Regions from separate parts of the Homo sapiens genome. Here all the other regions are linked to region 5. The links are contacts of gene promoters, found by promoter capture Hi-C in blood cells and fetal thymus (Javierre and others, 2016). All regions are on one chromosome and are shown on one strand. The core of a region is centred on a gene start or on the middle of the fragment in contact, and the rest is flanking DNA. Distances in the headings are between cores, read along the strand shown.

Region 1 (5,288 bases), core at 1,842-4,341, 510 kb after region 5:
ACTAACCCCTTTCTAAGCCCCAAAAATTATATTACCAAGTCATTTGAAAAGAAATCAAACTAGTCTCAAAAAAGATTGTAAACAAATATTTAAATAAACCAATTAAAAAGTTAATGATTTTAAATATGTTTGTCTTAGAATGGTTGAGTGAATGTGCCCCATAGTCAGAACACTTATGTTAGATTTATTTTAAAAACCAGCATTGTCAAATGAACAGAGATACATTTTAAAGTTTTTTTTTTTTTAATCTTTTCCAGTCTGTGGTGCTTATTATTGAGTGTAGGACCTTATTTATCTATTTATTGTTATTTATGGTCAGAGAATAGGGCTCACAGTTGAAGGAGAACCTGAATTGAACATCTCAGTGTGAGGCAGAAATAAAAAATGCTTTTGAGATTGTAGCTTTCAGCAGTACATTTCTTCCCCTACAGGTGGAAGGGTGAAGGTGTACACTCTGGCAATGTGGAGAACTGAGAGTCTCTGACATAGAGCATGCTACATATCACACTACACAAACATAGCCAAACCCCAGACTTGTCAGCCTAGGAACTTCTGTAGAACTCTTTTATGTCACCAAACTTCAAAATATGTTTCTGCCGGAGGCCTGGGCATTTAGGCAGTTTTTCACTGTGAGCTGTATCTCTTTGGAGCATTAAAATAATATATTAGCTATCATTGTGTCTCTGTTCGAGAGAGCCCCGTGAAAATTAGTGTGTACTGACTGGGCTAAATCAGGAAATCTGAATAGTGATTTCTGTGTTTTGTATCACTGAAGGCAGTAGGCCCTGGCTCCTCACTCTTTGTTTTAGACATAAGGCTGGGGGTTAACATCATACCAGTAACCCCCATATCTCTGGCATATAGACACCTAAAACTGAATAATTGTTATTACTATTTAACCCAGGCTTTATCAGCCTTAGCACTAGTCACTCTTTGGGCTGGATAGTTTCTGGTTAAGTCTTTGTCATCCGCAGAGGGGACACAGGGAGGAGGTTGTCTTGCGCACTGTAGGGTGTTCAGCAATACTTCTGATGTCTGCCCACTAGGTGCCAGTAACCACTCCCCCAAGTTGAGACAACCCAAAATTGTCAAATGTCTGCTAGGGGTGGGTGAGGAATTATCACCAGCCTTGAGAACCACTGATTAACCTAACCTAATTAGTTATATAGCTGCCTCCTTGGGGAAAATACATTTTGGTGAGTGATCAGGTTTATAAGTGTGAGAGAAACGTGACAGCTGCCTAGCTTGACTGAAGGAAGGGAGTTGGGATGATGGTGGTGATACTTTTGATGACTCCCTTCACCCCACAGAGGACCATTCTGGCAGCATATGATTGGAGGTGCTGTTGCTTTTTCAAGGGTCCCCATGACTTTGACCACTCCTTCTCCCACCAGCAGGGGCGTGGTGTGTCTATATGGGTTTACCTCTGCCCTTCTATAAGTCTAGTATATCAAAGAGTTACAAGAAGCACAGTCATTATTTGAAGAAAGAATTTTAAAAGGCTAGAGCTTGTGCATGGGAAAGAGATCTCCAATTTTTGGTTTTGTTTTAGATACTACTTAAAAAATGTCTTTTTGTATTGAGGTCCTGTCATACTCAAAGATTAATTTAATCATCTGTAATTCTTTTAATAGGCCCACCTCATAACTGGATGAAAGATTTTATCCTCACAGTTTCTATAGTAATTGGTGTTGGAGGCTGCTGGTTTGCTTATACGCAGAATAAGACATCAAAAGAACATGTTGCAAAAATGATGAAAGATTTAGAGAGCTTACAAACTGCAGAGCAAAGTCTAATGGACTTACAGGAGAGGTAAGTTCAGAAAAATCATAACTCATTTATGTAGGCAAATACAATTTGTAAAAAAAGTGATATGGGCATGTGCTTAAATACTTACATTTAGGTTATTATACACATCAGGAATAGATGCATATTTGATTTCACATTTTTAGAAAAGTATACTTTTATAATTACAGATTTATTATAAATGTGTATACTTGAGAATAAATGAGTAGAAGAACAGTGGAGGTAAGTCAAATATAGTGGAATTAGATGTGTAGTTAAATTTTATTTTTAACTTGATTTAAATAATTAGGAATTTTTGAAAAGCTTTTTGCGGAAGAGTATTTCCCTGCTTTCCCTGTCATTTGAACCCAGGATAACCAAAATAGCTGTATAGTAAGTTGCCTGATATTTGTATTAACCAAACTTAAGGCTAATGAAAAATGCTATGATTTCTGATTGAAATATGTATTTAATCGCTTGACCCAGTATTCATTATTTTGTAAAAAAAAATAAAACTGGAAATTTTTGTGAGGAATTTTTATTTTTATTGTTCTATAAGGCTTGAAAAGGCACAGGAAGAAAACAGAAATGTTGCTGTAGAAAAGCAAAATTTAGAGCGCAAAATGATGGATGAAATCAATTATGCAAAGGAGGAGGCTTGTCGGCTGAGAGAGCTAAGGGAGGGAGCTGAATGTGAATTGAGTAGACGTCAGTATGCAGAACAGGAATTGGAACAGGTATTTACATTAAAAAAAAAATCACTTGTAAAGATGTTAACATTGCCACTCTGAGGAGCCAGGTCCTGTTTTTCTTCAGTTTCCTACATTTAGTTCCACTGTAGTTCCTCAGTTGATAAAAGACTCATTTGTTTATGTTGTTAGCATTGATCAAAGTTCATATAGCAAAATAACACAGTAGTAACTGAAAGATAGTTACCATCATGTTCACTCATTCATGAAATCTTACCTTGCCATCTTCACTGTCTTGAGTAAATTTAAGGTGTTTGTTTAACATCTGTAATATGTTTAAGTTTCTGACTATAATGTAGTAAGATATAAAGTATATCTAATTTTGAACTTCTCTGCAAAGGTAAAGGATCTCTATTAAACATCCATTTGAATCCTGTTAAATAGTTTTAGAACATAATCTGCTAAAAGTTCTGAAGCTCCTTTCCAATACCTGCTTCTCCTGTTCAGTTACTTAAGATAGAATATAGGCATTTAGGCATTGCACGGAGTCCTTTGGAGAAGGTGAGGTGCTGGCAGAATTTAATTATAGACAGATGCATTAGTTTCCTGTTCCTGCTGTAAAAAGAAAAAAAAAAGCCACAAACTTAGTGGTTTAAATAAACAGAAATTTATCATCGTAAAGTTCTGGAGGTCAGAGTGAGTTGAGGCGAGCCTGCAGGACTGTGTTCCCTCTGCAGGCTGTAGGGGAGGACGTGTTTCCTTGCCTTCTCCACTGGTAAAGGCCACCCACATTTCTCAGCTCATGCCCCTTCGTCTGTCTTGAAAGCCCATCATTCCAGCCTCTACTTCTGTGGTCTCATCTCCTCCTTCTGACTTTGATGCTTTCTTTACTGATAATGAAACTGAAGAACAAAATGAGGATTATAAAACTTGCTCAAAATTAGAGGTGACTCAGTTATAAAGCAGGGGCAAGAACTTAGGTGTTCTGCCTCCACTTTGTTTTATGCGCTGTTGCTGCCTTCTTAATAGAGTGCTAAATAAGAAATGCAAATTAAGTGATGAATGACATAAGGTCAACTCATGAGAATACATTACTGTTTCCTTCAAGATTGTCATTTTATGAGAATATGTCTGACTGAACACAGCCATCTTTTTTATAACTGTTAACCACTCCTTCTCTCACACCCCCAGATGTCTGTTTTTTGGAGCTCTTCCCTCTAAGGACTCTTAGATGTATTTTACAGTCATGCCTCATTCAACTAACAAACCATATCAGCACAGAATGTAGCAAAGAATCAGGGAGTTGACAAAAAAGGCCTAGTCGAAATCATACGGTATCCGAGAAGTGGGTACTATGCCCTTTGCACTCCTGTAAGAACTCCCTGCCTTTTTCCACCAAGACATCCAACTCTCGGTTTGTTCTGGTATATTTCTGTCTTTCTAAACTTTGTATATAAAAAAGAGCGAATCAGAAAACAGTAGTTTGGAATTCTTCTACAGAGATATAAACTGATGGTAGTACTTCACAGGTGCCTGCCTCACAGTGAGGGAGAAGAGACAATATAAAAAAAGGGCCCAAGAATTGTGGACATTCTAACTTGAAGCTTTGGGAGAGAGACCATGCACACCTCAGTAGACCCCGAAGTTACCAAAATGTGATGTATTGGTATTATTGGTATGAATAATCTCATTAGATCCTTGGTCAATAAAAGGCGGTTTAAAGGAAGGAAATTGGTATTTTAAAAAGAACACTGTCTGGCATGATCGTATTAATAAGAAACACAATTTTCTGAGGGCTTACTGTGTGCCAGAAGTGTATGCTACACACATTGCCAGTGGTTTGCTCATAAATTTTAATCCTCACAACACATAGGTATTATCTTCATTTACAAATGAGCTGTGTAGAGAGGCTAGATAACTTACTTGCCTTGGGTTACACAGCTATTAACTGGTAAAGGCAAGGTTTTGCGTGTCATATTCCAAAGTCTGTGTCTTCTTATACTGCTATTAAAAGCTTTGCTTGTAGAAATAAGTTTAACTGAGAAATGATGTATAATATGACATAACCCACAATTCCACGTAGTTCAAGGAATTACTGTATTTTGTCTGGAGAATAATCAACATAAATTTAGAAGTCAGGAAAATCTGGTATGTTTTTTATATAGTGTTATTTTTCCTAGAACAGAGACTTTGGGTGACTAATAGTACTGCTTTATGTTTTGTGTGATTTAAGTAGTTTTCACAAATTAATTTCTTAGAAAAAGTCTCAGGAAGCCTTTAATCAGGGCAAGTGATAATACCCCTATTATACGTGAGACAATAAGCCTTAGGAACTTACTGAAGGTTACAGAGATGAAAAATAATACAGTTGGGTCTAGAAAAGAAGTTTTCAGATGTTTAGGCTGTTTTTGTGACATCATGTTTTTACTTACTGTTGTTTTATTCCAAAGATACAAAAATCATGTAAATAATTATTACATTTTAAACAGTTATTTATTGTTTGCAAAAGCTGTTTATTACTCAATTTTTTCTGTGTTCATTCCCCTGTAAACAACAATGTGATTTAAACTAAGGGTTGGGATTTAGATCAAATGAAACATTCATGAGTAATAGCAGAGAAAACAGTTAAATAGTTGCCACTATTGGAAGGTCAGACTTTCCACAGGTTTGAGTCATTATTTGGCAATCAATCTGAACATTGTTCAGCTTCAATTTATGCTAAAAATATGTAAGTAGTTTTTATGTTAAATGTGTTTCCTTTGAGCTCTTTTAGGGGAAATACATTTATGGAAATATTAAGAAAAATCTATGATT
Region 2 (6,011 bases), core at 2,453-4,952, 540 kb after region 5:
TCAGGGTAGCCCTGATGCTATCTTCAATCAGCTGATGTCAAGTGAGCTTCCGGCCAAATTTCAGGATTTGACCTCAGTCCCGTGATTGGGCTTTTCTGGGTATCTACAAAGTCTCTGAAGTGGCTCTCAAAGGGTCCTCTCTAGGGCAGTGTTCCATATAGGCCCAGATAGGAGATCATGGAGAAGCCTCAGTCCACATCTTGATTTCCTGTTAGTGTGATGGGATTGAGACAAACGCCTTACAGTCTTTCATGAGTTGCAGCATTTTGATGGCCAGAGTCTCCAGCAGTGAAGCAATACAATTTTTACTAGATATGTTGCAGTATCTTCATTAACCTCCAAAAGTAAGGGAGAGCAGCCAGCTAAAGGGAAGGAGGGCGATTCACCTTCTGCTGGTGAGAGCTGCTCTGCCCCAGGAAGTCACAGTGGCTCAGCCATTCTCAATCACCAGACCTTGAAGCAACAGCCAAGCATCCGCTTCCCACATGGTGCTGTTTTGCCCTGCCAGGTTCTAGTTCCCTATAAAAGTAGAACTCTAAGAAATCTTATGTGGGTCAAAATAGTTCATCTCTTGCTTCAGATTTGCTCAGTTTGATATGGCTTTTATTGCTAGCAGCCATCCAGTGTTGCAGTTCTCATTCTTAAAAACATCCTCTGTGTACTCCTTAAAGCACCACCTCTTTAATGGAGGCATCTTAGCTCTAAAATATCTACATAAGCTAATTTTCCCATGTGTGAAAACATCAACTGCTGAATTATTTCTACAGACCTCTGGCTTCTTAGGGTGTGGTGGCATCAGATTTTAGGGAAATTTAAGGTCACCAGCTCTGAGGTACTGGAAAACGTTTACAGAATAAGAAATGTGGCTTTTTTGCTTGATTGTTCTCCACAAAAAAAGCTTTCTGTTACTTAAGATGTGTATCTGTAGCAAAAAGTACAATGACAAATTAAAAAGGGGTGTTGGGTGTGTGGGGTGTAAAACGGAGCCTGGGTGCAACAGTGAACTGCTCTACTAGAGGTTGCCTTTGACTTAAAGGTAAGAAAATGAACCTGTAAATAGGCCTGGGCATGAGACCTTGGGAAGGAGAGAGGAGGGGAAGGGTACATTTGTTGTCAACTCACCAAATCTTGTCCATTTCGTTCCCCGAATATCTCAGTGAATTCCCCGCTTCTCTACTGCCCTGGGGCTTTGTTTCTCCATTTCTCATATTATTCACTTCAAAAAGCAAACTGAACCCAGCCTCACCACCCGCTTCATCCTTTCATTGGTGAGCTCTCTAAGTTGCACAGTGGATTTTCTCTGGATACAATTTTTCTATGCCTTTTGTTGCCTGTGGGATAAAATATAAACTTAACCAAGACTAGCAAAGGCCCTTGATGTTCTGTACCCTGCTTACTCCTCTGGCCTCATGGCTTTTGTGGACATAACCTAATCAGTCACACAGAACTTCATGCAATTTCTGAAGTAAGGCAAGCTGCTGCTTTTGCCTGGAACGTCCCCTTCCATCTTAGGCAACTAACGCTAAACCTTTAACTCTGATATCTCTAGGAAGCCTTCCATGCATGCCCCCAACCTGGGTGAGATACCATTTCTGTGATGTGCAGAATTTTTCTTTCCACGCCCCCCCTCTTTTTTTTTTTTTTTTTTTTTTTTTTTTGAGACAGGGTCTTACTCTTGCCTAGGCTGGAGTGCAATGGTGCAATCATGAAACACTGTCCCCTCAACTTCCCTGGGTGCTCAGGAGATCCTCACACCTTGGTCTCCGAGTAGCTGGGACTTCAGGTGTGCACCATCACACCAGGCTTCTTTTATTATTATTATTGGTTTTTTTTTTTTTTTTTTTTTTTTTCTGAGACAGATTCTCTTTCCCCCAAGCTGGAGTGCAGTGGCGCGATCTTGGCTCACTGCAACCTCCGCCTCCAAGGCTCAAGCGATTCTCGTGCCTCAGCCTCCCAAGTAGCTGGGACGACAGGCACGCACCACCATGCCCAGCTATTTTTATTTATTTTTTTTTTTTTGTATTTTAGTAGAGACGGGGTTCACCCTGTTGCCCAAGGTGGTCTCGAACTCCTGAACTCAGGCGATCCGCCCACCTCGGCCTCCCAAAGTGCTGGGATTACAGGCGTGAGCCACCGCACCCAGTCCCCCGGCTTCTTTTGTATTTCTTTTTTGTAGAGATGTTTCTCCATGCTGTCCAGGCTAGTCTTGAATTCCTGTGCTGAAGCCATTAGATATGCAGAATTTTCTGTATTTATTGCGGCACTTGACACATCGTATTGCAATGACCTGTTTACTTGTTTGCCCAACAGACTGAATTACATAAGAGCAGAGACTTTGCTTTGTGTAGCTTCGAACTCCCAAGAACTGGCACTTTAGGCACTGAATACATTGCATGCCTGATGAGTGAATAAATGAACAACAGACAGTATTGCTGCCTTCCACCTCCAGGTTGGTAAAGGCCATTGCAAATGGAATGACCAGAAAACAGTTCAAGAGTATTATCCAATACAAGTGAGTGTTATTTTCACTTGTATATACTCTATTTTCATTGTCTTACAGGAGGATTCCAAGAAAAGAGGAGATCAAAGTGGCATAAAGTGACCAGTATGTCCAGTATGTTTTCTTGGAGAAATATATTTTTAGAGCTGAACACTGAAGGATGAGTGATATCTGAATAGACTCAATAGGAGGAACACATTCTTTCAGGTTTTTGCTTAGTAAAGAGATTTAGCCTATCCACTCTTGGTCTCTACCACCTCTCCTGCACTCAGCATTTAATGGCTATACTACATATCTGATAATTAATGTGATTTCTTACATTATTCAATCTTATTTTAATAATTATTGAATAGTGAGAGAATACAATGTGCTGTGTGCAGGGCAAACAATACAAGAAGCACAGCCCTTTCCTACTTTGTTGAACAAATTCACAAGTAATTAAATTACCATGCTTGTTATTAGTGCTATGAAAAAAGGGTTCACAGGGCTGTGAGACTACTTAAAGGGGGCCTAACTTAACTTGAAGGCAGGGACAGGCTTTGCTGAAGAAGTGGCTTTTTTGCTAAAGAGAGAAGAGTGGAAAGCACAACTTTGACCTCAGGGTTTTTGACAGTATCGCATTCAGCTGCAAGTCACAGAAAACTAAGCAGACTTACCCATCCTGAATTGCCTGATGGCCCAAGGTAACCGCTGACATCACATTCATATGGCAGGAAGAAGAAGGGCAAAGGCAGGATGGTGTGTGCCAGTGATGCTACTCCCTTGTAAAGAGCTTTTTGCGAAGCCTCACCCGACAGCCTCACTTTTCAGCTTGTTGGCCAGAACTGAGATGCCATGTAGTCATCGTCAGCTACAGAAGCTGATAAATATAGCAGGTTAGCACTGATTCATTGCTTGACTGATTGTATGCTTCTGCCCTCAAACACAATTGGGGTTCTACTGATAAGAAAGAAGGAGGGAGTGGGTTTTGAGTAGAGTTAGAAATGTATGCCACAGGCACAAGCCGAGTTCTCATGTTTAGCTTTACCTGGGAACTCTGCTCTTCAGGACAAGTGTGTGTGCGTGTGCATGTATGCACGTGCGTGTGCATGTGTGTGAATGCAGGGGTGTCAATGGACACTTGCTTGGCCTTGAGATAAATTTTAAAATATTTGCGTTTCTATCATGGGCCAGAAATCTTTCTAGATGCCAGGAGTATAGCAGTAAACAAAACAGAAAAAAGCCCCTCACCCTTGGGGCTTACATGCTAGTGGTGCAGACAGTAATCAAACAAAATATGCAATATGTTAGACGAAGGTAATAGGGAGTGCCCAGGTAGTGATGGTGGAGATGGTGGGTCTCAGTTTTAACTTGGGTGGTCAGAGAAGACCTGTGTTAAGTAGATGGTGGCATCTGAGTAATGAGATGAAGGAAGTGAGTGACAGTCATGGAAATAGCTAGAAAAGAACATCCCAGGCAGAGATGGAACAGTCAGGAGCAACAGGTACAAAGGCTTTGGGTTTCCTTTGTATTCCTGGTGTATGTTTGTTTAATGGATTCTCAATTTTTAAAAACATTATGTCTTCCTGTGGACATGGGTACAGTTTTACTACGTGTAGAAGGGAACCTCTGTAGTGGTACCTAGGGCTTTCCTCCCCCTTTGGAAAAAACAAAGTGTCTGAATGCTCATCTTGATAAATCGTTAAGTGCCTTTTCCCACTTCTCTCCCTCTCCTGAATCCTGTTTCCTTATTTTGGGGGGATTATGTGCTGTAGTAATTATGAAAATAGACTTCGGAGTCTGATAGTTCTCAGCATGAGACCCCTGGCGTTTCTTACCTATGACATGGGACAAATAACTTACCTCTCAGAGCCTGTTTTCTTATGGATGAAGTAGGGATGCTAATAATGCTGCTTCACTATTGCTGTGGGTATTACATGAGATGATGCCTGAGAAAGGCTTACCACAGTGCTGGGTCCCTCTCAAGTGTGTCCTTTGCAAGTAAGTCCACTGAACCCTTCTCCCCCTCCCTGTGATCTTCAGCCCTGTGTCACATGGAGTGTCTTGGGGGTAGGTCAAATGCTGATTCTATGAAAAAAGCACCTCTTAACTCCTTACCAGTGTGTGAGAGCTCCATGTCACACTGATGTTCTTCAATGAAGTCGTATTTCCCAGCCTGTTCCGGCATCCCATCCCAAAGTCTTTTCAGAGGTTGAGATAAGACCTTTGTATTACTTGAGTGACAGACACCAATGATGCTCACATGGAAATCTTGTCATCTTCTGGAACTGTCTACCTGTGGACTCATTATACCCAACCTCTTCCTGTGCCTTTTTGGCCAAAACTGCCTACTCTTCCAGGGGGCCACTCCTTTGCTTCCACTTCTTTTCAGCCTTGTCATGGATCCTACCTTTTTTTTTTTTTTTTTTTTTTTGAGACAGATTCTCTCTCTGTTGCCCAGGCCGGAGTGCAGTGGCCGGATCTCGGCTCACTGCAAGCTCCGCCTCCCAGGTTCACACCATTCTCCTGCCTCAGCCTCCCAAGTAGCTGGGACTACAGGCGCCTGCCACCATGCCTGGCTAATTTTTTGTAATTTTTAATAGAGACGGGGTTTCACCGTGTTAGCCAGGATGGTCTCGATCTCCTGACCTCGTGATCTGCCTCGTGATTACAGGCGTGAGCCACTGCGCCCGGCCTCATGGATCCTACCCACGTTTTCTGTGTCCATTTTCCATACACTGGCTTTCCTTCCTATGTTGACCTACCTCAATCCCACAGCACATCACTGCAATCATCCCAACTTTTCCCACACATCCCTGATTTCCCGTCACAGATGAGTACAGCCAACTCTCTTTTTACCCGTACTCCCCGGTTTTTCCAATAAGATCCCTTTCCTGTTTCCATCAGTGAATATTCAAATCCATATGATCTCTTCACATCGGGTGCTGCACCGCCCAATCCTGACTCTCAGTAAGACTGCTCATTTGGTATGAACGTCTTCAAATTCTTGCCCTTAACTTACAAAATTGTGTGTGTGTGTGTGTGTATACACATACAGCCAGCCTTTCTTCCTTTCTTCACTATCAGAGGAAAAGTTATTTTTGTAACCAAGAGTCATCCAGACATTCATGTTTTGAATTTTTTGCCCTCCTGCTCTTTCTGGGATTTGATTCATTAATTGTCTCATCTTTACTGTTTCTCTAACATCTCTCTTTCCATGGCTTTTTTTCACATTATGAAATAAGCTCAAATCTTTATCTTAAAAGAAAAAAATTCTTTACTCTCTTGCTTTCATATCTCATCCAAGCATCTAGGAAGATAGCCAATGATTATATATCTAAGTTGTTTTTTTTTTAAGGGAAGTGATGTCAAAGAATCATTAAACTCATTAATGAAAGGGCCAGCAGCGTGGTAAAGCTGAATTAAAGAAAACCTAAAGGACTGGGCATATAAAGTCATTGGAATAAGATAGTTTAATTACATACAAAATAAACCATAACCTTATAATATTTTTGTTTGCATCTCTCCAGGG
Region 3 (5,964 bases), core at 1,819-4,318, 520 kb before region 5:
AGTGCAAATGTCATTTACTCAGCCATCGTAAAATTCAGCAAACAAGTTAAACATTGCTTTTCTTAAAGCCCCTCAGCAAATTGTGTTGGTGCGGATTCCAGCTTAGCTGTGTTTTCTCCTAAGATGCTGGCTTCCTGCTGTGGTGTTGACCTCTTTTTCCCCTTAACTCCTTACAATTCTCTCACCCCTCTACTTCCTCTGCTTCTCTTCATTTTCTCATACAGAAAAGTTCAGACCTCCCTTTGTTCAGCTTCTTTCAGATTTTGTCCAGGGTCCTTTCTTTTCACTCAGATGGTGTATTAGTTTGCTGTGACAAATTGAGACAGCCAGATGGGAAAGAGTCCCCAGAAAAACTCCAACCAGCATGCGCACTGGAAGGAGTGTGCACTGGGGTGGAGCCACAGAAGTTCGCGGGGAGGAGCCTGCCCCCTTCTCTTCCTGGGTGGTACCTGGGATTCAAGTTGCGAGGTGGAAAGCATATACTAGCAGGATTCTTGCTCTGGCTTTGTGGAGGGTGCCTGTTTCCCTTTCTTTTTTTTCTTTTTTTTCTTTTTTTTTTTTGGTGCTTTTCACCCAATAAACTCTGCCCTCCTCACCCTTCAAATTGTCTGTGAGCCAAATTTTTTGTGACCGTGTGACAAGGACCCCCATCTTTAGCTGAACTAAGGAAAGAGTCCTACAACAAAATTACCACAAACTGGGTGGCTTAAAATGACAAAAATGTATTCTCTCAGTCCTGGAAGCTAAAAGGCTGGAATCAAGATGTCAGCAGGGCCATGCTCCCTTGGAAGAATCTAAGGAAACATCCTTCCTTGCCTCTTCCTACCTTCTGGTGACTGCTGGCAATCCTTGTCATTCCTTGGCTTACAATTGCATCACTCCAATTGCTGCTTCTGTGGTCACAAGGCCTTATTCCTGTAGGTGTGTCTGTGTGTCTCCAAATCTTCCTCTTAATCCTTATTAGGATGCGAGTCTTGTTAGATTTAGAGCCCATCCTAATCCAGTATGATCTCATCTTCACTTGATTACATCTGCAAAGACTTTATTTCCAAATAAGGTCACATTCTGACGTTCCAAGAAGATGTATATTTGAGGGACACGCTATTCAACTCACTATTCAACAAATGGTTTATACAATGTTCTGCTGAACAAAGAGTAGTTCTCTCCCTAAAAACTCCTCCTATAGCTCTTAAGATAAATTATATATATTTGCCCCTCACCACAGTAACTCTTTAATCTTAGGCCTATTGGGTTTGTCTCTCCAGTTATTCTTTTTTTTTTTTTTTTTGAGACAGAGTCTCCCTCTGTCACCCAGGCTGGAGTGCAGTGGTGCAATCTCAGCTCACTGCAACCTCTGCCTCCCAGGTTCAAGTGATTCTCCTGCCTCAGCCTCCTGAGTAGCTGGGATTACAGGCACGCGCCACCACGCTTGGCTAATTTTTGTATTTTTAGTAGAGACGGGGTTTCACCATATTGGTCAGGCTGGTCTCGAACTCCTAACCTCATGATCCGCCCACCTCACCCTCTCAAAGTGCTGGGATTACAGGCATTAGCCACCACGCCCGGCCTTTCTCCAGTTATTCTTAAGTGGCATTAGCTGGGTATTGGTGCATGAGAACTCTTTGCATTCCCATAGTGCCTAGTCAGTGCTATGTACATAGCAGGTGCTTAGCAAATATAAGAAAAGAAACTTTTGATATGATGTTTGCTCAGTGCTCTGGTGGGAAAGTATCTCTAAGAACTGATGATTACCTTTCCAGGGATTTTGCTCTTTATAGTTCCCATGGACAACCTTCTGTGGGTCCTCAGTAATCACTGAATACAGTTAACACTCAGCTCAATATGTAAAGCCCTTCACCACCAGTGCGGGGGCCTCCCTAGTCTCACCTCTCTTTTAGCCTTTGCTGTCTCTGTCCGTGCTCCAAGCCACCAGACTCTTTCCTAGCCCAGAGCTTTTGCTTGGCTATACCTCCTGCCTGACTGGGTCTCACTTCCTATATCCCCCAGCCTTCCCTCTTGCTAAACATTTACTCATCCCTCAAGACCTGATCCAAAAGCCACTCCTTCCGTGAAGCCTTCTTGAATTCCCATAAGCTGAATTCATGTGTTCTGCCTTAATGCTCCCCACCATGTCAACACAGCTCCATTTTAACATTTGCCGCATTCTGAGGAAATTCTTAATGTATGTGTCCGCTTCCTTCCAGACTGAGATGTCTCTTAGGTATAGTGTCTAGCATAGTGTAAACTCAATGATGTTTGTCCAATGAAGCCATAATGGTGGAGTTGATGATAAACAGACATAGGAGTTTTCTGGGTCTTCTTAACCCATGCCTGGGAAGCTGTTGTAGAATTTCTTAGCATGGTCATTGGGTATTAGGGGAGGGAATGTTAGGGGTCTATATGAGAATCTAAAATCTGTATTAAGAATCCGTCAATGCCTATAATCCCAGCACTTTGGGAGGCCGAGGCAGGAAGACTGCTTGAGTCCAGGAGTTCAAGACCAGCCTGGGCAACAGAGCAAGACCTCAACTCTATTTAAAAAAAAAAGAATCAATCCAAGGTGACAATCTTTTATGGCTTGTGACCCTAGATAATATAGAACAGTTCTTTCCCTGTGGGAGGCTGGGGAGGGTGTGGAGTCCTAGGGAAGAGGGGTGCCTCTTCCCAGGTTCTTCATCTTAGTTGGGGTCCCTCCACTTGGCTCAAGTCTTGGGGACATACTGTATGAAGCTGAAGAACCAAGAAGCTGTAAAAAAGAAAGTGCTCAGGGGCTAGCACTCTCTCACCATCTCAAATGGACTGTAGGATCCATCTATCTGTGTATGGGTCCTCTCTCTTGATGAGGCAGACATTTCCAGAGCCTCATCTGTATTCCTCAGAGCTTTCCGTGTGCTTCTGATCATTGCAGCTGCCAGTATATCTGCATCTCTGTGTCTAGGGAATTTTTTCCTGGAGCCGTGGAAGGCAGCTCTTTCCACAAGCACAGGGTTTGAATTCCAGGGAATCAAGTGCTATGGGAGCAGTCCTCAACCAGACTCTCAGGAGTTGCTATATAAATATCCTAACTCCCTCACCTCCTGGCTGGGGAGAGTTCTGAGGTATGCATATGACACAGTTTCCCCCTGGGTTAAGCTCCAGTCACTGCCTTCTGTGGCTGGCTCAGTAATGCACCACTTACTGGCTGCCTTCCCTTCCTGGTATCACTTCCCCAAGTCCTCTTCTGCAGTTTCCTGAGACCACTTCCCAAATAAACCACTTGCACGGAAATTGTTGTCTCAGAGTCTGCTCCTGAGGGAACTCAAATGAAGAAACGGGGCCACCCTGGTCTCTTTCACTTTTGTTCTGTGCTCTTCTTGTTACCATTTGACTTATCCTTTCCTCTAATCTCTATATCCTTTTAAAAAATCTCAGCCGGGCGTGGTGGCTCATGCCTGTAATCCCAGCACTTTGGGAGGCCCAGGCGGGTGGATCACCTGAGGTCAGGAGTATCAGCCTGGCCAATACGGTGAAACCCCGTTTCTACTAAAAATACAAAAATTAGCCGGGCATGGTGGCATGTGCCTGTAATCCCAGCTACTCGAGAGGCTGAGGCAAGAGAATTGCTTGAACCGGGGAGGCAGAGCTTGCAGTGAGCTGAGATCCGCCCCTGCACTCCACTGAGATATCTCTTGGGTATAGTGTCTAGCATAGTGTAAACTCAATAATGGTTGTCCAATGAAGCCATAATGGTGGAGTTGATGTTAAACAGGCATAGGAGTTTTCTAGGTCTTCTTAACCCATGCCTGGGAAGCTGTTGTAGAATTTCTTAGCTCTGGGCAACAGAGCAAGATTCCGTCTGGAGGAAAAAAATCTCATATCTCTGCCTTTTTCATGCTTTTTATTTAGTCATTTTAGTAATTATTTCTACTGTTCCATGATGCACACCATCTGTATCTCCTCATGGCTCTCTGCTCCTGCTGTCTCTCCCTACAGCCCTTCATTTACTATTCCCACTGCTAACTGTCTGGCACTTGCCTAATTTCTCAGTTCAAATCCGCCAGGGATGAATTTAATGACCCGGCCATCTTTTTTTGCATAAGGCACAGGCTCCTGGGTGGATTGGCTGCACTCGGGTCAGCTGATCACCCCCTGTCCAATCAGAAGGGAGATGGGGCAGGAGCATAGCGGAAGGTTTAATGGCCGACCCCAAGGAGAAGAGTGGGGAAGCTGTAGCCTGTCTCCTATTCCTTCATATGGACAATTGACATTGTCTTAACTTTATTTTAAATATAACTTCAATTTCTCCTTTGCAATCAGATTGTCTTCTTAAGTCTCTCCAATACTGAAATTTCGAAGCTGCTATGGTTGTGCATAAATTAAGACTTGGCCGCCTAAGGACTGGACCCTCAGTAGAGCTGTGGGCAGGACCTTCCCCGGGAAAAGGAAGTGTCCGTGAGGCCAGTGTATTTGGCAGGTTAATACGCCAAGCATTCTGTGAAAAAAGTCTTTTTTGAATCATTACAAAACCTTGGAAAATACAGAAAAGCACAAAGGAAGAAAATAAAAGCCACAGGAAATCCCAGCACCCCGAGATAATCACTCCTTGAATTTTAGGGCCTTTTCTTGTGTGTGTGTGTGTGTGTGTGCGTGTGCGTGTGTGTGTCTACTTTAGAGGGAAATATTTCTTCCCCATAAAGAGGATTGTCCTACATATGCTGCTTTTTATAACCTGCATTTTTTTTAACCTACCACTGAACATTTTTCCGTGTCATTAAATATGCTTCTACCATCCTCATTTTGGTGTCAGCCTCGTCTTCCGATGCGGGGCTTCCTGCCTGGCTGAGCTGCCTTCTCAACCCTCCCCTCCCCAGGACACTCAGCTGTGAAAGGCGCTGATTTGCACAGGTGGATCTAATGAGCTCATCTCGCTTCCCCCTACACATTTCAGTTGATCCGAGGCCCAGGGCTGCCAAGTGGGGCCCGGGCTGTCTGTGGTAGTGGGAGCTTCCCCAACAGCCGTAGACTCTCCGGGGAAATCACCAGTCAGCTCTCTACAGCTTCCTCATTCCCCACATGCCATCTGCAGCTCAGGACACCGGAAACTCAAATCATCAAAAACCGGAGCTGGAAGCTCCCTTAGGAAGCTGCTCCAGCTCCTCCAGCCCCTCAAAAACCAGGCTGAGAGAGGGGAAGTGGCCCATCCACACTCAGCCAGGGAGTCGGTGGCAACGCCAAGACTCAAGTTGTGTGCCTTTAACCAAGCCCGGTCTCTTCTTGCCACCACCCCAATGCCTGTCAGGAGCTGGGGTTTTCCTTCTCCACCCATCAGCCCTGCAGGGTGAAGTCTCCATGGCATTCCTGAGCCCCAGGATGAGCCTGCCAACTTAATAGCCCTAGCCCAAGGCTTGACCTTGGGGAAGGTAACTGCCCCACCAGCCTCCTCTGGATCAAGTCCCAGTTTCACATCCCGGGACATGGTGCGGTTAGAACAGCTGCCTTTCTGACTCTCTGAGGTGGCTGAGTAAACATTCCCACAACATCAGGTCTTCCTGCCACTGGGGCCTATGTTGGTGAAGTGCGCTGGGCTTTGGAGACTGTCACTAGCCGCTGAGACTCTGCTTCAGACCTCCAGGCTCTCAGTCCATGGAGCAGATTCTGGTGGCTGGAGCAAGACCAGGAGTCTGGGACAGCCCTGCCCTTCCAGTGGGCAGTCACTTGGAGATGCCCTCAGGGCTAGCCTGGAGCCCACGTGAGGAGTCTGGTTACCAGGGGAACCTGAAGGAGACTTTGCCTCCATGGTGATTAAAGGAGTCAGGCCCAGAGTGTGCCTTGGGAAGCAGTTCTTCCAGCTGAGAGCCAGTTCACTCATTGTGAAATGGAAGGAGGATTATCCCAGTGCCCTATCTGCAGTTCTTAGGAGTCTCGGGCTCTGTGCCTGATTGCAAGAACCCTGGGGGCCTGGCAGTCAAGCAGCATGAAAGGAAT
Region 4 (5,820 bases), core at 2,743-5,242, 580 kb after region 5:
ACTGTGCCTGGCTATTTCACTGTTTGATATGCACACATTCTACCAACAGTCTCCACATTTTGCTTACTGATGCATAAGGAAGGACAGACAGAAAGGAAAAGGATTTATAGGTCGCATGTCTTTCCCTTTCCTTCTGTGTCATCATTTTCTGCATTAGTGGTTGACTAACAGGGAGGTAATGTGAGGAAGAAAAAATAGTATGTTCTGTATCTGTTTGCTGGGGCTGCCATAACAAAGTATCAACTGTGTGGCTTATACAACCGAAATTTACTGTCTAACAATTCTGGAAGCTGGAAATCGGAGATCAAGGTGATTGCAAGATTTTGCTCCCTCTGAAAGGGATAGGGAATGATCTTCCAGGTCTCCCTCCTAGCTCCTGGCAGTTGGTTGGTTTGTGGCAGCATAACTCTAATCTTCACATAGCATTCTCCCCGTCTGTGTGCTGTGCCCACACTGCCCCTTTTTCTAAGGCCATCAGCCATATTGCAGTAGGGCCTCCTATCCCGGTATGACCTCATCCTGATTTAATTGATCCTAATTACCATCTGCAAAAACCCTATTTCCAAATACGGTTTCATTGAGAGGTGCTCAAGGTTAGGGCTTTAACATATGATTTTTGGGGGAGCAAGGGACACAATTGAACCCACAGCAAGCTCTTTGGTTGTTTGGATGCCATAAAACGCTATTGCTTTCCTTCTGCTCTTGAAGCAAGTTGTGGTTTGAACAGAAAGCATGACTTCTCAGGGCTGTCAGTGTCTCCCGTATTCAGTCATAGACCTGAGTTTTGCTGAAGTCCCACACACCTTGGATGCACTGGAATTCTGTGCTCATTGGGAACCATGAACATTGTATGCAAACGTACTACCAAGGAACAGAGGCAGATACGCATATTTCATGTGTTTCCTGGGCTCTTGTGCATGCTCTACTGTCTCTTTGGACTTCACTTATAAAACCCAAGTTCAGGCCAGGCGCAGTGGCTCACACCTGTAATGCCAGCACTTTGGGAGGCCGAGGCGGGTGGATCCCCTGAGGTCAGGAGTTCAAGACCAGCCTGGCCAACATGGTGAAACCCTGTCTCAACTAAAAACACAAAAATTAGCCAGGCATGGTGGCAGGTGCCTGTGGCAGGAGAATCGCTTGAACCCGGGAGGTGGAAGTTGCAGTGAGCCAAGACTGTACCATTGCACTCCAGCCTGGGCAACAAGAGCGAAACTCTGTCTCAAAACAAAAAACAAAAAACAAACAAACAAAACTCCAAAATCCAAAACCAAAACACAATAAAAAACACCAAGTTCAAAGATAAAATTATGAAGATTGTAAGATAGCAATAATTGAGTATTAAACCAAGTATGGGGATCTTCTGAGCCTGGAGCCCTGTGCAACTTGCCTGGGTGGCTGTATGGCAGATACACCTGACAGCAATAACTCAATCATACCCTGAGAATGACCCTATGGTCTCGGAAGAATGTGTATTCAGAGCTCTCAGCTAAGGAATCCAGGAGTGGCCAACCCAGAAACTCACTCCTTATTTATAAGGCCATCTGAACCCCTAGGGCCCATCCCTTGGAACACATGCTGGACAGGGGATTGAGGCTCTTTGTTCTGGGTTAAATAGAAGTTGCCAGGTGGAGGTTCCTAAGTGAAAATGCCACATAACTTGTATGTTTTTTACAAACAAGAGCAGTTTTCCTGTCCAGCTCGCTGGTCCTGGACTGCACTGTTTATACCCTATATCTCGTTTGCCAGCTCCAGGTCTCTTCCTTGGCCTCTTGGACACGGTGCCATCCCTGCTGGCATCAACAGGGGTCTGGCATGACAGTCGCATATACACAAAGCCAGCTCTGTCAAGAACTGGGGCTCAGATCTCTTACCTGAGCTTCATGTCTTGTTCTATGGTACCCTAGAAATGTGTTGGTGATCAAATCCAACCATTGAAGACCTGGAATTCAGGGAGGGTAAGTGCCCATCCAGAGAGCCCAAGATGACAGGCAGGACTGGAATCCAGGTTTCCAGATCCGTGGCCCACTGCTTACTGTACCGTATCACTTTGCCACCTGCTTAGGCAGCAACCCCATTTGCTAAGAGTTAGCTCAGCATGAATGCCCCACTGCATGGAGAATCTTTGATGCTGCAGGACACTCAGATGTGTGTACGCTGAGGACAGACCTGCTCTGTTTTCTTATATGGAAATTGAAGCAAGTGATGTAATGGCTGCTGTTTCCCTTCTCTCATGAATCTTATGGCTGGGTTTAGGGCAATGAGGCAATGAGCAAAGCTGGGTTATTAGAAGGATGAGTTTTCCAGTTTACTACTCAGAGAAAAGCTTTGAACTTTTGGGGAAGCAAGGCGTCGGGGACCCAGAGGGTGGCTTTATCACATAGCAGGGGCACAATGCTTAGATCTGGCCCAAGGCAAATGGTCCAGTGATGGAATTGGTTTTTAGGATTGCTCTGACATTCCCTGGTGTCCTTCCTGTATCAGTCAACTTATGCTATGTAACAACCACCCCAGAACTTGGTGGCTTAAAACAAGGGCCATCCATTTAGCTCCTGACTCTGCGGGTAATTTGGACTGTGCTCCAGCGTGTCTGGTCCATCTTGTTCAAGCATTTGTGGCTAGAGGCTGGGGCTTGCTGGCTTAGGAAGGATCAGGGTGGTTTTTGACTGCAGTTTCCCCATGAGGTCTTACTCAACTTCCAGCGGCTAGCCTGGCCTTGTTCCCAGGGTGATAGCAGGGTTTCAAGCCCTGCAAAAAGGGAAGCTGTCAGACCTGTTGGGACCTAGGATTGGAACTTGTCCAGTGTCCCTTCTGTCATACTCAATTGCTCAAAGCAGGTCACAAGGACATCTCAGATTCAAGGGGTGGGTAGACTTCACTTCTTTTTGGGAGGGGCTCTGAAGCATTGTGGCCATCTGCAATCTACCAGTGCCTTCCACCCAGGCCTACTAAGAGTACCTGTCCTTGGTCTCACCCATTTTTTTTTGTCTTCTCCCTGTTATTCCAGGGCTCTTTATTCAGGATTTTTTTTTATGGGAGAGATCCAGCTTATTTTAGAAATAATTCGTGCCAGGTAATAGATAATAGAAGTGAGAGTACTAAAGGGTTACTTTAAGACATTCCTGGTAGTAGAAGTTCTGGGCTTTTAAAAACTCTGTGACTTAATTCAAGTCTGTCTTTTTTTTTTTTTTTTTTTTTTTTTTTGAGACTGGGTCTTGATCTGTCACCCAGGCTGGAGTACAATGGCACTATCTTGGCTCACTGCAACCTCTGCTTCCCAGGCTCAAGAGATTCTCCTCCCTCAGCCTCCCGAGTAGCTGGGACAACAGGCATGGGCCACCGTGCCCGGCTAATTTTCTTTTGTAGAGATGGGGTTTTGCCATATTGCCCAGGCTGGTCTTGAACTCCTGAACTCAAATCAATCTGCCCACGTCGGCTTCCCAAAGTGCTGGGATTACCACACCCAGTCATCAAGTCTGTCTTAAATTCTCACTATCATGAAAATTATCTTGGGAGCTTGTTGAAAATATAGATTCCCAGATTCCATCACAGATGTACTAATTCTGTATTTTCTGGAAGAAGCCTGGGCTTCTGTGTATTTTCAAGCTTCCTGGCCATCAGGCCATCAGCTTCCTGTGTTAGTTTGTAAGGATGATGCCTATCCTTATTCAGACCCCTTGAAGTTTACAGGTGCAGTCACCCTTATAATTGCTCATGGACTCACTTCCTGGATGGCTCTTTTGATTAGCTGGGATTTGGAAACACAGGCTTATCTCGAAAGTATAAGAAGCAACCCCACAAGCAGACAGGGGAGGTGTTTGATTCTTGAGGCTCCTGGAGGAACGGACCGTGTTCTATTTATTTCTCTGTTCCCACGGAGCCGGAGAGCTATCATCAGATTTGAGGTGCTTACCATGAATTAATTGGAGCTGTGGTCCTCACAGGGTGGCTCATGTTCCAGTAGCATCTGCTTTCCTGGGAACAAGCTAGAAATGCAAATTATTGGACCTCACCCCAAGCCCTTTGGATTAGACATGAGATGCACATGGGAGGGGGAACTCAGGGCTGGGGAACCTGATAACCATTTGCACACACACAAACGCGAAGGGACCACCCCGCCCTTGCTGGAATGAACATGTTCCAACCAGCTCAACCTGCTTGCCCTTTGGGAGAGTCTACCTGTGGCCGCTGAGATCTTTGAGCAAGGCTGCCCTGCGACCCTTGTCACCTGCGCTAACACACTCCACAATTCTTGCTTCTGAACTCTGGACAGGGCAGCTGGCCCTGCTTATCAGTCAAGGTCTCCGCGCCAATAGCAAAATGATGGTTCCTGCTGGGTGAATAGAGCTTTTAAGTTGGTGTCAAGATTTTTCCTCCTTGCGTGAAAAGCTTAAAAAACTCCTTGCCTTAGGTGGAGTGCTAAGGGCATAGGAATTAAAAGGGAATTGGCGTGAGGGGTCACCATTGCTGCAGAGTTTCAGGCACACACTTAATTATTAAAGTGCATACACACGACATGCACATACACACCCCGCACAGCTGGGGCAACAAGTTCCTTGTTCTTTGAAGCCAAGTTCCACTTCACTGTGGTTTCCTGGAAAGCTCTTAGCAAAGAAGGGCATGGCAGGTCCTTGTCATCCAGACTGGGCACAGGAGTTTTTGTTCCCTGGGCCAGAAGGCCAACGAGAGAGGAGGGATGTGTAAGAAGAGAAAAGAGCTTGGCCTGGACATTCCAGCCCTGGATATGTCACAAATCTTGGAGCGAGTTGCTTCATGTCCCTGACACTCAGCTCCTTCTCTGTGAAATGGAACATATATCCAGATTATACCTTCCCCTAAAACATTTTGGAAGATGCTTATAATTTGAGTACTTGTCAAGTAGAAGTTAGAAATATATAAACAGAAATGAGGAGTTTCTTAGGAGAATTGAACAGAGATTAATGGCAGGGAACTGGATTAGAAAATCTGTACATTAAATTAGATCCTGAGACCTTGGACATCCTGGGAAGGCCTGGAAGAGGTGGACCCGAAAGTTCTTTCTTGCCCAATCAGGTTAAAGAAAAAATGGGAAGAGAGTGAATTGAGGGTGCCGGTGGGGCTTGGGCTAGCCCATGATGACAGAGGGGAAACATGGAGTCACAATAAAACTCCTCCCCTCCAATCCCCATTCTTTCCTGCTATTCATCTGACTCTGAGATTCCCTGAAGTCCCCCTATATGGTGGCTTTGCTTGGCTTTTGTTGGGGGATGCTGCAGTTAAGCATGAGAGAATTCAGACTCCCCTCCTGAATTCTCACTAGTGAGCTCAGGGCATGTTTCACTGCTACGCTGGCGTTGTACTGGTGAATGCAATTCTGCTTATTTATGGGGTAGGTTTTCAGATGGGGCTTCAAATGGGAAACGAATCTTTCAACTTGAAGAAGTACAAAATGACCTACTCTTTGCTTACTGTGCAAATGAAAAGGTGAGGGATGCTCTTAATGGGTTAAACAGTAAAGAAGCCAGAGTGGTGGAGACTTGCTGGAAGAGGCTGAATGGGAACAGGGGTGCCTCCACATTCTAGTCTGTGCCAAAGGCCATGCCTGGACAAGACAACTGTGAAGGGGAAGGACAAGGCGTGGGGTGGGGAGTTTTTCTACCAGATAGCAAGACCGAGGTGAAGCTGGAGTACAGATGAAGAGTGTTGGCGCAGGTAACTAGGTCACTGGCACAGGAGGGAGAGGCCAGACACAATTCCATGCACGCGTGGTGAGCATTACAGAGCGGTGGGAAACTGGGCATTTATCAATAATATGTTTTTATTTCTTGGCAATTGGTTATTAAT
Region 5 (5,239 bases), core at 517-3,016:
AGAAGAGAATCTGAAACTGCGATAGAACTGGTTTTCAAATAGCCCCTGTTCCCTAAGAAAACAAAAGAAACAACTGCAAAGAACCCTCCTCCATCATCCTCACCCTCCCTAGAAGCCAGGACTCAAGTTGTGTATAGATCAGGACACAGTCAACAGCTTCCAGAAAGGGATAGAGCAGCTTAAAGTCACTTCTGACTTCAAACAGAAGCAAGCAAGTCCCTCTTCCCTTCAAATAGAAGCAAGCAAAATCAACTGCCCCTGTGTTTTCCTATCAATTTATTTCACTCTTAGAAACTGACCTCCAACATGGATGATGGGGACCGACTTGTGGGGAACGTATAAGGATGACTGTCAAGCCAGCACCAATGTCCGTGCACACAGCCATGCACAGCCTGATGTTCTGTGATTCAGCCCTCAGCAGGGCTCCTTTGCTGTGATTGTCAGAGGTTTGGGAAGGTCTGGGGCTGAGTGGGGTCTGGGGCAAGCTCCAGAAAGAGTCACCAGCAGCAACTTACCCATGAAGTAGGTGGTGGTCTTGCAAACGGCGCTCCCGAAGATGAAATCCTTGAGCAGATTGGGGATGAGGTTGAACGGCATGCAGAAGAGACAGAGCATGAGGTCGCTGACAGCCAGGGAGAGGAGGAAGATGTTGGTGACCGTCCGCATCCGCTTGTTCCGAATCAGCACGGTGATGACCAGCGTGTTTCCCAGCACGCTGAGCAGGAATATCAAGGAGTACAAGAGAATCTGCACCGCTGGCTGCCACTCTGCAGAGAGAAACAGGAGCAAGACGGAGGGATGGAGGTGATGACAGCAGAATGCTAAAACCGAAGCCAAGGGTGAATTCCTGCCGATTTTCCCCCCACCGGGGTGTACATCACTGGACCCACGATTCCTGTCCTGGCAACATTTTGCGGAAACAAATTGAGGAAAGCAGAGACTGAATTATTTTCTTTTTAGAAGGTTGGTTTGTTAAAGGATCACTCAGGGAACCACTTTTTCTTAAGAACAAAGCTCCTCAAGTGAACAGTGATCACTTTCTTTCCTGGCTGCTAAGCATTATTTCACTTTAATCACTTCATGCTGGGTTTCCCCCCAAGAAAAGAAAACAGCTGCATGGTGACAACACCTTTTCTGCTGTGCTTGTAAGTTCAGGCTTTGACACTTGTAGTCCCTCTTGCTTCACTCAGCTTTTCCTCCCCTGCTTTTGTTCCCCCAAGTCCTATTCATGAATGCCCAACTCCCCCATGGGGGACAATAAGAATATTTGACTCTATTCTGCTTTTTAATCTCTTCTCCAAACTTCTGAACATATGACTTTATCTAGCCTTGTCTCACAATGACTTGGTTATATATATTTTTTATCAGCCTTGCCTTTGCTGATTTCTCCCACAACTCAATAGTTTCCTGAATTAAAATAACAGCTTCCGACACTTACCTTTGGAAGGACGGGGCTGATCCAAGCAGAAAAGCGTCTCATTTTCGAGCCCGAGTTCACAGGGAGGAGTGATGTTGCTTCCATTCACAAGAAGGCTGTCAACCACATCCATCCTTGCCTGCTGCTTTCCACCAAGTGCTGGAGAGCTGGTGAATTGCTCACTCCCGGCTCATTCCTCTAATGACCGAAGCGTCTCGCAGATGCAACCTGCCGTGGAGGAGCAGGGAGGGAGTGATTTCCAGGTGTGGGCTTTTTCAGCCATTCCTAAAGGCGACTTGAGTTCACCTCACTCACTCCAGCATTTGTACTCCTGTTGTGGAAAAGGCAGTGAGCACAAGCCAAGCCCGCTCCACCTTCACCCCGCCCCACCTCCCCCGGCCCTTTCCTGGGCCAGTCTTAGGGCCCTGAGTACAGACAGCCTGGCTACCCGTTAACCATTCTCAGCGTGTGGCTGCTTTTTACACACATGTGTACATATGCACGGACACACACACACACACAGAGGCTTCCCCAGTACTCCTCTATATAGGAACCCGTCACCATCCCAGACATATGCAGAAGAAAGCCCAAACCGGCTGTGTGAGACAGGAACAATTAACACGGTAACAGATCCGATAATGCAGACCATCAGGCCTAAAGAACACGGAGGGACTGTGTTCTACCTCCTTATAGAAAAGCAATTAGTGCCTTTTTAGCTTTGGAACCATGCCCGGTGGTGTGTGTGTGGACAGAACTGCTGGCTGGTTGTTAAGTTGCTACTAAACACAGTGTTGTTTCTCGTGGTCTCTGCCCTTGTTAACTAGGATTGAGGCACTTTTGAACATAGGTACCTGGGTCCTTATTACAAAAGACGTTAGTGAGATTTCCTCTTCATTCATGAAGCCTTGCATTCAGCACATCTTCATTGAGAGTCAATCATTTGCCAGGCACTTTTCTAGCATGTCAGCAAATAATGAGCAGAATTATTTCAGGTAGTAAGTACTACAAAGGGAGTAAAGCAGGGAGATGTGATGTATACAAACAGATTAGGGGCTGATTTTTTGGGGGGCGGGGACAGGGTCTTGCTCTGTTCCCCAGGCTGCAGTGGAGTGGCGCGATCATGGCTCACTGCAGCCTTGCTCCCTGGCTCAAGCAATCCTCCTACCTTAGCCTCCTGAGTAGCTGGGACTACAGGCACACACCACTAAGCCCAGCTGATTTTTTTAGTTTTAGAAGAGAGGAGGTCTCGCTATGTTGCCCAGGCTGGTCTCAAGCTCCTGAGCTCAAGCAATCCTCCTGCCTTGGCCTCCCAGTGTTGGCATTACAGGCGTGAGCCACTGCACCTGGCCTGGGGCTGCTGATTTAGAAGGGGTAGTCAGGAGAGGTCTCTTAAGGAGGGGACTGTGATCTGAGACTGAACCACAAGAAGGACAAAGTCTTGTGAAGATCCCAAGACAGCTTCTCCCAGGCAAAAGGAGGAGCACTTTTAGCAGAGGTAACAGCAAGTGCAAAGGCCCTGAGGTGGGAATGAGTGTGGCCCCATTGAGGTACAAATAGATAGAAGTAGGAGTGAGTGAGAGGCAAACAGCAGGACGTGAGATCAGAGAGGGGGGCCATCTCAGGGTCCTGGGTGTTCCATGAAGCTCTGTGGTGCTGGAAAGCCCTTCAACCTCCATTGCACAGATTATGTCCTCAGTTCAGACCCTTTGGAAAGCAGACGACAATGGCTGTGAAACCTGCGTTTCTGACGCCCTGCTTGGCTGTGCTGAGACTTGGTCCATTTGCTAGATACCCGTGGGGCTCCTTGTGTACTGACAATGCTTCCACTGGCAGAGCTGCATGCTACATCTTGCTGAGTCTCTGCCAGACACAGAGGAACTAACGCATTTTTACTGTCAGTGTGGGGCTGGAAAGACAGTGGTGCCTCTTTTCTTTGAAACCATGAAGACCACATGGTTTGGGGCATTTAGTCACAGAAACAAGAAGGGGAAGGGACACTGGAGAAGCTGTGGATGTTATTGGGAGGACAGGCTTTGGCATCAGACAGACTTGGGATCAAATCCTGGCTTCACTGGTTACCTGCTAGGAAATACTGGGCAAATTAGTTTCCTTCCTTCCTTCCTTCCTTCCTTCCTTCCTTCCTTCCTTCCTTCCTTCCTTCCTTCCTTTCCTTTCCTTTCTTCCCTCCCTTCCTCCTTTCTTTCTCTCTCTCTTTCTTTCCTTTCTTCCCTCCCTCCCTCCTTTCTTTTTCTCTTTCTTTCTTTCTCTCTTTCTTTCTTTCTTTCTTTCCCTTCCTTCCTTCCTTCCTTTCCTTTCTTCCCTCCCTTCCTCCTTTCTTTCTCTCTCTCTTTCTTTCCTTTCTTCCCTCCCTCCCTCCTTTCTTTTTCTTTCTTTCTCTCTTTCTTTCTTTCTTTTCCTTCCTTCCTTCCTTCCTTCCTTCCTTCCTTCCTTCCTTCCTTCCTTCCTTTCCTTTCTTCCCTCCCTTCCTCCTTTCTTTCTCTCTCTCTTTCTTTCCTTTCTTCCCTCCCTCCCTCCTTTCTTTTTCTCTTTCTTTCTTTCTCTCTTTCTTTCTTTCTTTCTTTTCCTTCCTTCCTTCCTTTCCTTTCTTCCCTCCCTTCCTCCTTTCTTTCTCTCTCTCTTTCTTTCCTTTCTTCCCTCCATCCCTCCTTTCTTTTTCTCTTTCTTTCTTTCTTTCTCTCTTTCTTTCTTTCTTTCTTTTCCTTCCTTCCTTCCATCCATCCTTCCTTCCTTCCTTCCTTCTTTCTTCTTTCTTTCTTTTTTTTTTTTTTTCTGAGACGAAGTCTTGCTCTGTTGCCCAGGCTGGAGTGCAGTGGCATGAGCTAGGGTCACTGCAAACTCCACCTCCCAATCGCAAGCAATTGTCGTGCCTCAGCCTCCCAAGTAGCTGGAATTACAGGTATGCACCACCAGAACCAGCTAATTTTTGCATTTTTAGTAGAGACGGGTTTCACCAAATTGGCCCGGCTGGTCTCAAGTTGCTGACCTCAAGTTATCCAATCGCCTTGGCCTCCCAAAGGGCTGGGATTACAGGTGTGAGCCACTGCGCCCAGCCTGAGCAAGTTTCTTAACCTAAGACTCATTTCCATCTGTCAAATGGGGATCAGAATGATTTAATAGATATTTGTTATGAAGATTGAACGATTGACTCAATAGAGTGTCTGACATACAAAAAATGTTCAATAAATCACAGGCAGCAGTATTCATAGCCTTCCTACGATAATGGCTATTTTCGTTTTACAAATGAGAAGGCTGGGACTCACAGTGGCCATATGCTTTGCTGGTGAGAACCAGTGGTGGATTTCCCCTCGAGGACCCTGCAGACCCCATCCTCACGCCACTTCCCATGGCATGGAGCTTTCCTTCCCTATTCTAGCATCATGTAGCCTGTTTGGAGCCAGGGCTCTCGTCTCTCTTCCTCCTTCCTGCTATGAGTCCTTTTGTCTGAATCTTCCCTGTCTACAGATGATGGACCCTGCTCACTGGGCGATGACCCAGAGCAGCTGTGTTCTGATGTGGGAAGGGATGAGCATCCAGGGTTTTGGCTGCTGCTTCAACTGCTCCAGCTGGGCAGACATCACCAGCCATTCAGGGTGCCTCCTGCTGAGGCTTGTCAGGCCCATCAGCACCTGCTTCAAAAGCTGGGGGGACAGTGGTTCTGTAAGTCCAAGAACCAGAAGAGCAGAGGGCTGGGCATTGACCTGCCCTGAACCAAAATGGAGTCCAATTTGGGACAAGTTTCTCCTTTCCCTTCCCTTCCCTTCCCTTTCCCTTTTTCCTATTCTGTTTCTTCCTCCTGCTCAT

The links. Contacts are between HindIII fragments. The CHiCAGO score rates a contact against its expected background, and 5 or more counts as called.
Region 1: a contact is called between a fragment that was not itself captured here and the fragment with the promoter of CCKAR in region 5, in 6 of 17 cell types (naive CD4 T cells, total B cells, total CD8 T cells and 3 more). The highest score is 6.5, in naive CD4 T cells.
Region 2: a fragment that was not itself captured here is called in contact with the fragment with the promoter of CCKAR in region 5 in 7 of 17 cell types (total B cells, naive CD4 T cells, naive B cells and 4 more); the score reaches 7.7 in total B cells.
Region 3: a contact is called between a fragment that was not itself captured here and the fragment with the promoter of CCKAR in region 5, in 1 of 17 cell types (neutrophils). The highest score is 6.6, in neutrophils.
Region 4: a fragment that was not itself captured here is called in contact with the fragment with the promoter of CCKAR in region 5 in 1 of 17 cell types (total CD8 T cells); the score reaches 5.4 in total CD8 T cells.

What each region holds. Positions count from the first base shown.
Region 1 is chr4:27,000,583-27,005,870 of GRCh38, forward strand. It overlaps STIM2 (stromal interaction molecule 2), which reads left to right. Exons shown (of 12, transcript NM_020860.4): 6 at 1,635-1,812; 7 at 2,345-2,522. Among named protein-coding and RNA genes, the nearest start is that of STIM2, 140 kb to the left of the region's middle. RefSeq lists a silencer at 355-414. The HindIII fragment of the contact is 1,969 bases long and covers 2,108-4,076 here.
Region 2 is chr4:27,027,163-27,033,173 of GRCh38, forward strand. No RefSeq gene overlaps it. Among named protein-coding and RNA genes, the nearest start is that of STIM2, 170 kb to the left of the region's middle. The HindIII fragment of the contact is 5,613 bases long and covers 897-6,011 here.
Region 3 is chr4:25,965,442-25,971,405 of GRCh38, forward strand. No RefSeq gene overlaps it. Among named protein-coding and RNA genes, the nearest start is that of SMIM20, 54 kb to the left of the region's middle. The HindIII fragment of the contact is 8,839 bases long and covers 1-5,964 here.
Region 4 is chr4:27,064,097-27,069,916 of GRCh38, forward strand. No RefSeq gene overlaps it. Among named protein-coding and RNA genes, the nearest start is that of LINC02261, 150 kb to the right of the region's middle. The HindIII fragment of the contact is 783 bases long and covers 3,602-4,384 here.
Region 5 is chr4:26,488,718-26,493,956 of GRCh38, forward strand. CCKAR (cholecystokinin A receptor) reads right to left here and starts at 1,767. Exons shown (of 5, transcript NM_000730.3): 1 at 1,439-1,767; 2 at 516-767. The coding sequence starts at 1,550. The HindIII fragment of the contact is 9,380 bases long and covers 1-5,239 here.